Linked DNA regions of Homo sapiens: region 1 is linked to region 2. Evidence: promoter capture Hi-C in 16 types of primary human blood cells and fetal thymus (Javierre and others, 2016). All regions are on one chromosome and are shown on one strand. Each heading gives the region's core, a stretch centred on a gene start or on the middle of the fragment in contact. The rest is flanking DNA. Distances are from core to core; before and after follow the strand shown.

Region 1 (4,167 bases), core at 1-2,500, 730 kb before region 2:
TGGGGAAGAAGAGCCTCACCTTCCTCCTTGCGACAGCCTTTGAAGCCTTCCGGGTCTCAATCCTGAAGGTGCGGACAATCTGAGGATGGGAGGGGAGAAGGGTCAGGCTCCTGGGACCAAGGGATCTCCTTTATCAACCTCCTCAACACACCCCACCCCATTCCGGTCTATGGGCCCCCAAGCACAAGGGTCCCCACTCCCTGCACCCCCCACCCTCACCTTGAACTTCTTGCCATCCTCATCTATCTTGTACTCTGTCACTGTCTTTATGTTTCCGTTGATGACCTCCTTGGGAGGCGGCAGTGGAGCTGGCAGAAGGGGAAAAACAGAGAAAGACTGAGCCCTGGGTCATGGGGATCAGGAGCGGCAGGGCTGGAGGGAGAGGCAGCCCGGACACCGAGTGGCAGTCCTCACTCACCTCCCGGCAGTCCTCACTCACCTCCCGGCAGTAGCTCTGGCTCTGGGCTGGTGTCACCTGTGGCCAGAGGGATCCCCTTGAGGAGCTCGCTGGTGACACATTTGTCTGCAAAAGGCAGCGTAGGAAGGAGGAGTCAGCTCCAGGGGCAGGAGCTCCCCAGCTGCGATGGAAGGGCTTTTGGGATGACGCCTACAGCAAAAGCGGAGAAAGGCAGGCCAAGGGCAGAGGGCTGGCCAGGCAACGCACTGGGATGGCCCTGTGGGGACTCGGAGTGGCAAGGATGGGAGATCCCTCGTAGGAAGGTGGGTGCCAGGCCATGAAGCCAACCAGGCGCCAGTAGAGAAACAGGAGACGGGAGATTACAACTTCCTCCCTGGAGGGGAACAGCTGGGAGGCAGTGGCATGGGAGGAAGAGGGACCCGCCGGGGAACACCTGGAGTTGGCAACAGGCGGGTCCCAAGGAGGATGGCGCGGGGCAGGGGCAGACCGTGACGGGGTACACGGTGCCAGACTGGGAGATGGAAGCAGGCGGCAGTCACACGGCTTGGGCCTGGCCGCGAATACCCCGGGCGACCGTGTACACTTACCGTCCTCCCCCTCCTCCTCCACCTGGTCGGCCCAACTGGGCTTCGAACTGCGGAAACAAATGTGTGGGGAACGAAGATTAAGTCAGCCAGGCCCGGCTCCCGCAGCCTCGGCGTACCCAGGCCCCATAATACTTCCCAGAGCACCCCAACCGCTTCCCGTGCCCCTTTCCGCGATCGCCGACTCACTCAAAGTCTCCAGTAGGCATCGCAAAAAGTATTCTCCACGCAGCCCAAGCCCGGCCAGAGAGCGGAAGCGGGCGAAAACGAGACTTCCGGTGCCGCCGTCGCCGCCTAGAGGGGCCCAGCCGCGGCACCCACAGCGACACCTGCGGACGGAGGTGGAGGCGCACGCGGCTGTGTATGCTACTGGGCGCTGCTGGTACCAGAGTAGGGCCAGCGGGGGCAGAGGCTGATTTCAGGGCTGGTCCTATTAACCTTTAAAATTAAAATAGGCCAGGCGAGGTGGCTCAAGCCTGTAATCCTCGCACTTTGGGAGGTCGAGGCGGGCGGATCACCTGAGGTAAGGAGTTCGAGACCAGCTTGGCCAACGTGGCGAAACCCCGTCACTACTAAAAACACAAAAATTAACTGGGCGTGGTAGTGCGTGCCTGCAGTTCCAGCTACTCGGGAGGCTGAGGCAGGAGAATCGCTTGAACCCGGGAGGCGGAGGTTGCAGTGAGCCGAGATCGCGCCACTGCACTCCAGCCTGGCGACAGAGCGAGACACCGTCTCAAAAAAAAAAAAAAAAAAAAAATTAGCCAGGCGTGGTGGTGGGCACCTGTAATCCCAGCTACTCGGGAGGCTGAGGCGGGAGAATCGCTTGAACCCAGGAGGCGGAGGCTGCAGTGAGCCGAGATCGCACCACTGCACTCCAGCCTGGGGCTGCAGAGTGAGACTCCGTCTCAGAAAAATAAGTAAAATTAAAATAAATAATAATAATCATAAAGCTCACTTATTGAGTGCTTATTGTATATGAAGCATGGTGAGGAGGATATTACTTCCATTTTACAGCTGAAGAAACTGAGGCTCAGACTGGGTGCAGTGGCGCCTGCCTGTAATCCCGCACTTTGGGAGACCAAGGCGTGGGGATGGCTTGAGGCCAGGAGTTTGAGACAAGCCTGGGCAACATAGTGAGACCCCTGTCTCTAAAAAAGAAAAAAAGAAAAAGAAAGAAAAAAGAAACCAAAGTTCGGGGAAAACAATCCTTTTGCTTAAACTGTTCCTTGTCTTCTTTCCCGATCCCAATGATTCAGATGCCAAGTGGCCTCCCCTCAGCCACTCCCTCTTCTTTTCTTTGTAGCATTCTTGGCTTTCCGGTATAATTTTGTGCATTTACTTGTTTATTGCTCAGCTCCTTGCTCTAAGCACAACCGTCCTCAGTCGAAGTGATTCATGATGACTCCCCAGGGGAAAAAACTGGTCCTCAGGGAGGAAAAAAATCTTAGATATTGTGGTCTTCCAAAGCCAGCTCTATCAGACAGCATTTATCCCTAAGTATTTAGTTTCTGCCTTTAGGGAGATATTAAATGTAATTAAATTGAAATTAATTTAGTTGATGTAAATTCAATTTTAGGATAATTCGGGTTTTCTCCTAAGAAGGGTGATAATGAACAAAAAACGTTTGACAATGTCGGACGCAGTGGCTCACGCCTGTAATCCCAGCACTTTGAGAGGCCAAGATGGGCAGATCTCTTGAAGTCAGGAGTTCGAGACCAGCCTGGGCAATATGGCGAAACCCCGTCTTTACTAAAAATACAAAAATTAGCTGGGTGTGGTGGCCCGCGCCTGTAATCCCAGAACTTTGGGAGACTGAGGCAGAAGGATCACTTCAGCCCTGGAATTCGACCAGCCTGGGCAACACATAGTGAGACCCCCCATCTCTAAAAAACAACTTTTTTTTTTTTTTTTGAGATGGAGTCTCACTCTGTCGCCCAGGCTGGAGTGCAGCGGCGCAATCGCGGCTCACTGCAACCTCTGCCTTCCGGGTTCTAGTGATTCTCCTGCCTCAGCCTCCCGAGTAGCTGGGATTACAGATGACCACCACCACGCCGTGCTAATTTTTGTGTTTTTAGTAGACGGTTTAGTAGAGACGGGGGCCCACCTCGGCCTCCCAAGGTGCTGGGATTACAGGTGTGAGCCACTGCGCCCGGCCCTTAAAAAAATTTTTTTTTTTTAATCAGCTGGGCATAGTTCTGTGTGCCTGTAGTCCCAGATACTCAGGAGGCTGAGGTGGGAGAACAGCTTCAGCCCAGGAGGTTGAGCCATGATCATGCGACTGTACTTCAGCCTGGGTAACAGAGAGAGACCCTGTCTCAAAAACACACACACGCACACACACACACGCAACAAAACAAAAAATAACTTGTAAGGGAGAATGCCCTGAGAAAAATAAATAAGAAGACAGGAAAAAAAAGTTTATGCTTTTTTATCCTCTGAGTTGTGAGTGAGGAGGCCACTCAAGTGTTTGGAATATCACCAACTTTTCTTGTGGAAAAAATTATTCTAGAAGCCTGTAGAGAGCCAAGTGGAAGGGAAAACATTAGCTGGAGAGCAGGAAAGAGAGGCACGCCGCTGTGGCCTTTCAGGAGGGTGGCCTGGCTATATTGGTGAAAATATGAAGCTGGTCCAAAGGACTGATAAACATTTTTACAAGCTTACTCAAATGTACTCTGAGCAACACAAAATCCAAACAACCCAGCAGATTGGGCAAAGCTTCAAAAATTCGATATCACCCCGTGGTAGTAAAGATGTTATAGGGAAACAGGCTGGGCACCTGTAATCGGGAGGCCGAGGTGGGTGGATCACCTGAGGTTAGGAGTTCAAGACCAGCCCCTGGCCAACATGGTGAGATGCCGTCTCTACTAAAAATACAAAAAAAAAAAAAAAAAAATCTGGCCATGGTGGTGGGTGCCTGTAATCCCAGCTACTTGGGAGGCTGAGGCAGGAGAATCGCCATTGCACTCCAGCCTGGGCGACAGAGCAAGACTCCATCTCAAAAAAAAAAAAAAAAAAAAGAGGAAGCGATATATAAAATGGCATATATTACAGGAACCAATTTGTGTAAATCTTCAACAGCACATAGATATGCAGATATATGCAAATCATTTCCTGGAAAGAAAGAATCAGAACCTGTTAATGAGGAATGCTTTGGAAAGAAGGCAC
Region 2 (4,624 bases), core at 19-2,518:
AGAGAAACTTGGAAGTTTCTGGGCTGTAAACAGGAGGCAGTTTATCCTGTGAACTATATCACAAACTATATCCAGAATTGATCTGGAACTGGTATTCCCTTTCATGTGGCTGATCAAACTTCTGAGTCTTTTTCCTCCCTGTAACTTTACCTTGTGAGCATGCACTACCCACTAGGCGTTGCATTTCCTACTACAAGTTCTTTGAATCTAATGTCCACTGCTCTTTTTTTTTTTTTTTTTTTTTGAGATGGAATTTCACTCTTGTTGCCCAGGCTGGAGTGCAATGGCGCGATCTCAACTCACCACAATCTCCATCTCCTGGGTTCAAGTGATTCTCCTGCCTCAGCCTCCCGAGTAGCTGGGATTACAGGCGTGTGCCACCACGCCCGGCTAATTTTTTGTATATAGTAGAGACGGGGTTTCACCACGTTGGCCTGGTCTCGAACTCCTGACCTCAGGTGATCTGCCCACCTCAGCCTCCCAAAGTGCTGGGATTACAGGCGTGAGCCACCACGTCTGGCCTAATGTCTACTACTCTTAGCCCCATTCTGCAGAGCAGTATACTGAAGCCTCAAAGGAGGTAAGCCATGCCTGAGGTCACAGAGGCCAAGCCCTAACCACCATGTCCTCCCACTCCTGCCCATATTTGTTTAAATGTTGGTGCTGGTTAGGCTATGGTTTGTGTCTTGGGCATGGGTTTCCAAACATCCCACTGCTGTCACCCTGTCTCATTCCCAGGAGTTCTCTTAGAAGGAGAGACAAAAGGCTGGGCACGGTGGCTCACGCCTGAAATCCCAGCACTTTGGGAGGCTGGGGCGGGCAGATAATGAGGTCAAGAGATCGAGACCATCCTGGCCAACACAGCAAAACCCCGTCTCTACTAAAAATACAAAAATTAGCTGTGCATGATGGCTCCTGCCTGTAGTCCCAGCTACTCAGGAGGCTGAGGCAGGAGAATCACTCGAACCTGGGAGGTGGAGGCTGCAGTGAGCCGAGATCGCTCCACTGCACTCCAGCCTGGGCAACAGAGCAAGACTCTGTCTCAAAAAATAAAAATAAAAAAAGAGGAAAAAATTGTGAAAACCACCTAAACATCTCATCCATTTTTTTCCCCTCTAATCTGCAGAACCGCAACCAGAGAGGTGCGCGGGTCTGATGTGTGTTTGGGGAAGGGGTGGGGAGGGGAGAGAGTCCCTTTCAGTGCCCAAGCCTGTGTGTGCAACTTCCTGCCAGTGAGGAAACTCTCAGCTCGAGAATCAGCCCTGGTTCTCCTTTCCCCGATCTGGCCTCACAGGAGGAGTTGGCGGGGAGCCTTGGGCCCCTCTGGCCTCAGCCGGATTTCCCAGCCAAACGCAGAGAGAGATGCCCTGGACCATCTTGCTCTTTGCAGCTGGTGAGTCTGAAGCCCCCCTCTCAGATCCCCCACGCCTTTCCCCCCATCCTCTGTCCACCTTGCCGCTCCAGGGGCAGAAACCAGTGCAGGGGCTGCCGTTCTCAGGGCATCGAGGAGGCTGAGCCCTTGGCAGATGGGTTTTCCCCCTGAGCCTTGGAAACTCTCCAGTAGTGTTGGTTTTTTCTTCTTAGGCTCCTCATCACCCCCAAGTTTATGAATATCAGAAATATCACCCCTCTGGAGTCAGCTGTGCCCACACCCCATGATTCAGCCCCGCTTCGTCTCTGAAGGCTCCTTGAGTGCTGGGGCAGCAGGAGGGTCTACCTAGGGGGATATCAGTGTGGCAGGGGTGGGTGGGGGTTGGAGGCTGGACGAGGGAGGGTTTGTATAGACCTCACCTGGCCAGACACTCTGCTCAGAAGCCTGTGGGCAATCAGGAGAGAGATGGATCCCCAGGAGACCATCCTGCAGGAAGCCGTGCTCCAAAATCCGTATTCTTCACCCAAGCCTGGGAAAGGAGATAAAAGTCCTCTGCCCTTCCTTCTCCTGCCCTCCCTCTCACTCACCCCCTCCCCTTCCTGCCACCCACCTCACTCACCCCCTCCCTCCTGCCATGATGGCCTCCTTGCTGCTCCTTTTTTAATATTTATTTTTATTTTTAAATAGAGACAGGGTCTCACTGTGTTCTCCAGGCTAGTCTCAAATTCCTGGGCTCAAGCAGTCCTCCCACCTTGGCCTCCCAAAGTGCTGGGATTACAGGCGTGAGCCACTGCATCAGGTGTTTGCTCCTCCTTAAACACCCCCATTCCCCTTCCATCCCCTGGACCTTTGCCTATGCTGTTCCCTCTGTTGGAATGCCCTTCCCCAGCTCTCCAAATGGGTCCTTCCTCACCACTCAGGACTCAGCTCGTGGGAGGCCAAGGTGGGAGGATCACTTGAGGTGAGGATCTGGGCAACATAGTGAGATCCCATCTCTACACAAAATAAGCAAAATTAGCTAGCCAGGTTCACCAGCCTGGCCAACATGGTGAAACCCCGTCTCTACTAAAAATATAAAAATTAGCCAGGCATGGTGGCACATAGTCCCAGGTACTCAGGAGGCTGAGGCCACTGTACTCCAGCCTGGGCGACAAAGCAAGATTTTGTCTCTAAATAAATAAATAAAGTAATAATAAATTAAATAAAAAATAAGAGTATAGTTGTGTTGCTATGTAATAACCAATGCTATTATTGAAAACTGATGGCCAGGCATGGTAGCTCACGCCTATAATCCCAGCACTTTGGGAGGCCGAGGTGGGGGGAGTCACACGAGGCCAGGAGTTCGAGACCAGTCTGGCCAATATAGTGAAACCCCATCTCTACTAAAAATATAAAAATTGGCCAGGCATAGTGCCACATGCCTGTAATCCTAGCTACTTGGGAGGCTGGAGAATCACTTGAACCCGGGAGGTGGAGGCTGTAGTGAGCCGAGATCACACCACTACATTCCATCCTGGGTGGCAGAGTGAGACTCCGACTCACAAAAAAAAGAAAAAAGAAAAGTAATTCAACTACAGGGAGCCGTCACCATGTGCCAGGCAGTGTGGGGTAGGGTCACTAGCCTCCTGACTCACAGAAAACACAAGGCTGAGGGAGGGTGGTCTACTTGCCCGAGGCCACATAGCCAGGGCAGCCTCCACTCTCACCACGCACCCACCCACCTTACCCTCTGCATTGCAGGCTCCTTGGCGATCCCAGCACCATCCATCCGGCTGGTGCCCCCGTACCCAAGCAGCCAAGAGGACCCCATCCACATCGCATGCATGGCCCCTGGGAACTTCCCGGGGGCGAATTTCACACTGTATCGAGGGGGGCAGGTGGTCCAGCTCCTGCAGGCCCCCACGGACCAGCGCGGGGTGACATTTAACCTGAGCGGCGGCAGCAGCAAGGCTCCAGGGGGACCCTTCCACTGCCAGTATGGAGTGTTAGGTGAGCTCAACCAGTCCCAGCTGTCAGACCTCAGCGAGCCCGTGAACGTCTCCTTCCCAGGTAAGGCCCTTCTATGGGATCTCACTGCCGGGGGCTTAATTTTCTCACATGGACCTCTTGTGTGTACTGTTGACTCAGAGGCCTTCCCAGAAAAAGCCAGGCTTACACCCTGCCAGGACTTACTCGCCTTTCCTTTTTCAATCTTCTCAGCCAGCCCAAAAGGGGATTTGTTGGTTCACTGAGCTTAAGTCAGCTCACAGGGCCGACTTCAGGTATGGCTAGATCCAGGTGCTGAAAGCTGTCAGGGACCATTTGCCCCATCTCTGCTCCACATTCTTCTCCGTCTTATTGTCAGGCAGCCCGTCTCCCTCTTGGTGCCAAAATTGGTGCTGTGATTCTTCCCATTTTGCAGATAAGGAAACTGAGGCACAGGAGGTACACACCTTGTACACAGGTAACAGGTAGCCAGTCTGGGATGCCATTGCCTTCCAAAAACCATGAATTACACCTCCGTGACATACATTACTTCCCCTCTTGGCCACATACTTTTTTTGTTTGTTTGCTTTGAGATAGTTATGCTCTTGTTGCCCAGGCTGGAGTGCAGTGGCACGATCTTGGCTCACTGCAGCCTCTGCCTCCTGGTTCAAGCGATTCTTCTGCCTCAGCCTCCTGAGTATCTGGGATTACAGGTGTGTGCCACCATGCCCGGCTAATTTTTGTATTTTTAGTAAAGACAGGATTTCACCATGTTGGCCAGGCCAGTCTCGAACCCCTGACCTCATGATCCGCCTACCTCAGCCTCCCAAAGTGCTGGAATTACAGGCATGAGCCACTGCACCTGGCTTTTTTTTTTTTTTAAATGAGACAAGGTCGTGCAGACTAGAGGGCAATGGCACAATCATAGCTCACTTCATCCTCCAATTCCTATCCTCAAGTGATCCTCCCACCTCAGCCTCCTAAGTAGCTGAGACTACAGGTGTGCACCACCATGCCCAGCTAATTTAAAAAATTATTTTAGAGATGAGGGTCTAAAATGTTGACCAGGGCCGGACATGGTAGCTCATGCTTGTAATCCCAGTACTTTGGGAAGCTGAGGTAGGTGGATCACCTGAGGTCAGAGCTTAAGACCAGCCTGGCCAACATGGTGAAACCCTATGTCTATTAAAAATACAAAAAATAGGCTGGGCGTGGTGGCTCACGCCTGTAATCCCAGCACTTTGGGAGGCCGAGGCGGGTGGATCATGAGGTCAGGAGATTGAGACC

What was found. The method cuts DNA at HindIII sites, captures the fragments that hold promoters and counts their contacts. A CHiCAGO score of 5 or more calls a contact.
Region 1: the fragment with the promoter of EIF3G here is called in contact with the fragment with the promoter of C19orf38 in region 2 in 1 of 17 cell types (monocytes); the score reaches 6.0 in monocytes.

What each region holds. Positions count from the first base shown.
Region 1 is chr19:10,118,649-10,122,815 of GRCh38, forward strand. EIF3G (eukaryotic translation initiation factor 3 subunit G) reads right to left here and starts at 1,251. Exons shown (of 11, transcript NM_003755.5): 1 at 1,192-1,251; 2 at 1,006-1,052; 3 at 440-523; 4 at 220-308; 5 at 20-79. The coding sequence starts at 1,211. RefSeq lists enhancers at 1-753, 754-1,509. The HindIII fragment of the contact is 4,736 bases long and covers 1-3,656 here.
Region 2 is chr19:10,847,147-10,851,770 of GRCh38, forward strand. C19orf38 (chromosome 19 open reading frame 38) reads left to right here and starts at 1,269. Exons shown (of 7, transcript NM_001136482.3): 1 at 1,269-1,393; 2 at 3,113-3,421. The coding sequence starts at 1,363. The HindIII fragment of the contact is 13,315 bases long and covers 1-4,624 here.